2 separate regions of the Homo sapiens genome follow, and region 1 is linked to region 2. The links are contacts of gene promoters, found by promoter capture Hi-C in human tissues and cell types (Jung and others, 2019). All regions are on one chromosome and are shown on one strand. The core of a region is centred on a gene start or on the middle of the fragment in contact, and the rest is flanking DNA. Distances in the headings are between cores, read along the strand shown.

Evidence for each region. Contacts are between HindIII fragments. The study calls those that stand out against the background at their distance.
Region 1: a contact is called between a fragment that was not itself captured here and the fragment with the promoter of LYPLA1 in region 2, in 1 of the 25 tissues and cell types used here (heart left ventricle).

Annotation. Positions count from the first base shown.
Region 1 is chr8:53,743,331-53,746,030 of GRCh38, forward strand. It overlaps ATP6V1H (ATPase H+ transporting V1 subunit H), which reads right to left. Exons shown (of 14, transcript NM_015941.4): 13 at 247-360. Among named protein-coding and RNA genes, the nearest start is that of ATP6V1H, 99 kb to the right of the region's middle. The HindIII fragment of the contact is 3,769 bases long and covers 1-2,700 here.
Region 2 is chr8:54,100,635-54,103,334 of GRCh38, forward strand. It overlaps LYPLA1 (lysophospholipase 1), which reads right to left and starts at 1,313. Exons shown (of 9, transcript NM_006330.4): 1 at 1,121-1,313; 2 at 274-305. The coding sequence starts at 1,189. LYPLA1-TCEA1 (LYPLA1-TCEA1 readthrough) reads right to left here and starts at 1,313. Exons shown (of 21, transcript NM_001425842.1): 1 at 1,121-1,313; 2 at 274-305. RefSeq lists a silencer at 867-1,436. The HindIII fragment of the contact is 3,514 bases long and covers 88-2,700 here.

The DNA.
Region 1 (2,700 bases), core at 128-2,627, 360 kb before region 2:
AGTTACTTCTGGAGTCGTTTTTGAAATTATTATTTTGAATATACACTCCTTGAGACCTTTAGTGCAGTCCGTCTTTATAAAACTAATGTGTCATTGCTCTGAATTACTAAAATATATTTCTAAATTTTGAATCAAAATAACTAATTTTAAAAATGATCATTCAAAGCATTTGCATAAGAACTTTTAGAATGGCAAGTGAGAGTTTGCAGACTAATGTACAAGTGTGAGCAAAAAGCCGTGGCATACCAGTTGTGCACCATGAGCTTCTGCACGGCCAGCAGAGCATTATAGCGGACCTGCTGGTCTTCATGATGCATGTGGTTCATGACCAGCTGCTTCCCACCGAGCTGCTCGATGACCCTGCAAACGGGAGAGACGTGGTGAGGAAGATGCAATTACTCTCAAATTCACAGTTTGTAAGCAGGCAGCTCAAATACCAACACGCTAAAAAGGAAAGTAACAATGTACGTAAATAAACCAAACGTGTCTTTTTTTACATCATTTTCCCTGAACCATAGATTTACAGTATTCAAATACTTTCGTTTTTGAATTCCTAATGATAAATCCAACAGTTGTTCTCATTTCTCATCTCTAATCCAGAAACATATGATCTGCCTAGATACCACCCAGGCACTAGTATTTTAGATCATTGTTTTCTAAGTGGCTGAGTATTAACGTTTTTATTATCAGTATTTCTTGCTTGTTTAATATCAGTATTGAACACCATCTAATTTTCATAACAACATACAATCAATATCAAGCCCACCAGTGACCGTGCTGCGTGAAGATAGGGGCTTAGATGTAGATAGCAGGGAACAGGGGGTTAAAGAGCACCCATGCTAATTTCCTGGAAAAGACTACTGATTTTAAGATATCCACCCCTTTGTAATAACAATGGGATATGCCATGTGACTTGGGCAGTGAGACGAAGGAGAACATTCATATCTTCGAGACCACCGAGATGACTGACAACCGACACTGCTTTCTATCACCACACTTCCGACATCCTGAAAATCCACTTATTACAAACACAAAGGAAAGTAAAAATGGCTATTTCTTCATGCATAGAAATTGGTCCTCTGTTTCTTTGCAAAGGTGTGGTTACAGACAGAGCTGTGGAGTCTCAGCTTCCACACAACAGTGTGGACTGCCCTGTCCATTCTTCAGCCACCAGTCCTGTCTAGTGGAGGATACCTACAATATAGTCAGTGACAAGCGGCACCTTAATGCAGTACAGTGTTTGGTGGTTTAAGACAATCTCACAGATCAGTAATGTTTCTGGGGTCAGGAAGAAATAAGTAGATGGGGGTCGGAGTGAGAGGGAAGCTTTTATCTGCATACCTTTTCATATTTTATTCTTTAAAGCATGGTTTTAAAAAAAATGCACTGAACTGAGGGGAAAAAAAAGAACATAATGTAACTATCATCAAACATTAACTGAGTGCTTACTGCAGGCCAGGCACTGTACTTTAAAACATTATCTAATATATCAGCTCAGCCATTTATCAAACATGTTAATTAGACAAGTCCTTTACCTGGTAAATTCCTCCCTGACAAATAGGGAAGACAAGGACATCTTCACAGCGTTGCTGTGATGATTAAAGGACATAAAGCCTATGTCCCTGCAGGACACTAAGCCCAGCTGTGCAGCGATGATGATACAGGCTGCTCTCCCGCCTCCCATTCTCACTGTAGTCAAAGGAATCTTGGCAAAACTCTGCATATGATTTTTACTACTTAAAACAATTCAGTGGCTTCTACTTGTCTTAACAAAAGGACCCAGGCCAGGCACAGTGGCTCATGCCTGTAATCCCAGCACTTTGAGAGACCAAGCTGGGACAACTGCTTGAGCCCAGGAGTTCGAGACTAGCCTGGACAACACAATGAGATACTGTCCCCACAAAAAAATTAAAATAAAAAATTAGCCAGGCATGGTGGTGTGTACCTGTAGAACCAGCTACTTGAGAGGCTGAGGTGGGAAGATTGCTTGAGCCCAGTTCAAGGTTACAGTGAGCTATGATTGCACCACTGCACTCCAGCTGGAGCAACAGGGTAAGACCCTGTTTCTTAAAAAAAAACAAATAAAAATAAAACAAAGGACCCAAATCCTTAAAATAGCTGACAAGGTCCTTTCACAGTCAGCTTTGGAGCCCCACTGAGCTTCACAGAGCACGGTCACAGGCTGCTTGTTCTCTAGACTGCCTCTGAGGCCTGAGCTAGCAGCCAACAGCACCATAGCTCCTGGCTGAAGGAACCTTCTCTAACACACGAGTTTTCTCCATAGGCACGTAACAGCCCCTTCTTGTGCTTAGGAACATTACACAGCACTCCAGAAGGTTTGGGGGCCATTTTAAACAGGAAAATCACCACACACACACACACAAAAACCCCACAAAAATGCAAAAAAAAAAAAATATGGTACTAAACAGACCACGTAAAGGACGCTTGTTTCTAGCGTAAGAGACAACATGGGATGGCAGAACGCTGCCTTGTTCCCCCACAGCTGGGGATGTGTCCATTAGCGACTCCAATTATTCACCACTCTACACATGTCCATGGATAACTACAAAAGCGCCTCTAGTATTGACACAGCTGTTGAAAATAAACTTTTTAGTAGGTGGGCAAATTCACAATTCTGGAACCTGTGAATAATGAGGACCAAATACAATCTCAGAAAACTGCCATGTTGTGAGCAAAATA
Region 2 (2,700 bases), core at 63-2,562:
GGATCTCTGGTATCCAATACCCAAAGCAACTAATGAGGAATTTGAAATTTTAATATGTTCCAGAAACCAGAGTTAAAAAATCAATAAACTCACGATGATAAGGGGAAAATTCTGAGGGTTTTCAAAACATAAAATCACCGCACTGTAAGATACATTAACTGGCAATCTTAAAATACCATTTTAGCGCCCTTAAACATTAAACCTTTGAACGCGTAAACAAAAGTTGCATGACCCAGTTTCATTACTGTTACTATTAATAATAATGGTACCTACCCAGTATCTCCCAATCCATGCAGGAAAATCACCTATAAGAGAAGAGGAAAATTAATAAGCAATGCCTAAATAAGCCCACACAGGATTGTTACACACTAGCTTTGCTTAAGGTGGAAAACGGAACGAAACCTACGAGAGAATTACACAACACTATCTTCGGCGACTTAATCTTTATCGACCTCTTTTAAATGGCAAAAATTCTGATCAACTTCTCCCTTTATTTCCTGAGATAATGAATGGGGGGGGGGTAGCACTGAGAGGTCCCAGTTAGACATTGAGTGCAAATGATCACATTCTAAGAAAAACAGTTTATCTCTTTCAAGTGAAATCAGGAACATCTCACATATCCTGTAGAATTTTTCCACTGCAAAAGCAAGCTTCCGGAGGCAAAAATAAGTTTGACTTTTCATACACGAGTTTTCTAAAAAACAGTACGTCTGACCTTGTAGGACACTCAATCTTCAAACTTCTTTCATTGAGGATAAGAGTGCGAGGTGACAATAAGGCGATTTCCTGGCGGACTTAGGTTTCCCTCACCCACACACCAGGCAGAAACACGCTGCAGAGGCTGACGCCGTGCCCTAGGCCGGCCCGCGGGGGTCCCGGGGCCACACTTCCTCCGCAATGCAGGGAGGAGCTGGGGACTGGCCCTCGCGCCGGCTGTGACCCCCCGGCTGCCCCCGCCCCCCGCGGACCCGGCCGCGCGGACCATTCGCACCCCACCCGGGCCGGGAGGAGCGTCCTCGTCCGCAGGCCGCCACGCGCCCGCAACGCCCACCCCGCGCGAGGGGCAACCACCGGTGGCCGGCCCAGTGGACCCCTCCGAGCCCACGCCTACGCCACTCACCGCAGCGGTGGCCTTCCGGGCGGCGGGCACGATGGCGGGCAGCGGGGTTGACATGTTATTGCCGCACATACACCGCCTCAGCTCACAGCGCAAGCGGAAGGAAGAGCGGGCGCCCGGCCGCGGCCCAAGGGCGTGCGAGCGGCGAGTCCCGGCCGGCCCCACCGGGCGCACGCTCAGGCGCGTGCGCGCCAACGCGGCCCCGCGCTACCTTCCGCGCGCGCCCGCGCGTCCAGGGTCCGCCCTGCCCTGCCCCTCGCCCGCCGCCCCTCCCTCGGCACCTCACAATGTCCGGGCGGCTCCCTCCCTCCGATTGGCTGCGGCGGCAGCGCGGACCTGGCTGCGCTTTCGCCACACCACGCAGCCTGCGCATGCTCAGTGCTGGCTAGGGAAAATGTGCTCTCAGGTGCAGGCTGAGGGCTGGTCTCTTGGGTCTTGGTTTAGGTTTTTGCTTTTCTGGCGCTGTAGTGAAAAGAATGAGCCCCAGAGCCAATTCACCCAACCCAACCCCAGGTGCTCCTTGGTTTCCTGCGGCCGGGGTCTATCCATTTGTAAAAGTCTGGATGGACTGGGAGACGTTGATGGAGCTTTTGCAGTATTTCCGTTTGGGGCTACAGCAGTATGTAGATTTGGGTTCAACTTACCTTCTTTAAACTTTAGTTGGAAAGGGTAACATTTGTCACCAGAAATCCACTACTTCCCTAACTTGATCGACAACACTTACTGATGTACGGATATTGACACAGTACAGGTTTAAGTGAGAGGTAAAGCCAGCTGGTCTTCTGGGTCGGTTGGGGACTTGGAGAACTTTTCTGTCTTACAAGAGGATTGTAAAATGTACCAACAGCACTCTGTAGCTAGGATTGTAAAATGCACCAATCAGCACTTTGTGGCTAGCTAGAGGTTTGTAAAATGCACCAATCAGTACCCTGTAAAACGGGCTAATCAGTGTTCTGTAAAGTGGACCAATCCGCAGGACTTGGGCCGGGACAAATAAGGAAATAAAAGCTGGCCACGCCCCCCATCCCCTAGCTGGCAGTGGCAGCCCTGGGTCCCCTTCCACACTGTGGAAAGTTTGTTCTTTCACTCTTCACAATAAATCTTGCTGCTGCTGCTCACTCTTTGGGTCTGTGGGACCTTTAAGAGCTGTAACACTCCCAGCACTTTGGGAGGCCGAGGCGGGTGGATCAGGAGGTCAGGTGATCGAGACCATCCTGCCTTAACACGGTGAGACCTCGTCTCTACTAAAAATACAAAAAAAAAAAATTGGCCGGTCGTGTAGTCCAAGCTACTTGGGAGGCTGAGGCAGGGGAATGGCGTGAACCTGAGAGGCAGAGCTTGTAGTGACCTGAGATCGCGTCACTGCACTCCAGCCTGGGAGACAGAGAGAGACCTTGTCTCAAAAAAAAAAAAAAAAAAAAAAAAAAACTGTAACACTCACCACGAAGGTGACAAGCTTTATTCTTGAAGTCAGCGAGACCATGAACCCACCGGAAGGAACCAACTCTGGACACATAAGCATGAGACTAGACTGCCCTTTTCTGCACAGGTGCCTTTATGGCCTAAAATGTAGTTACTCAACA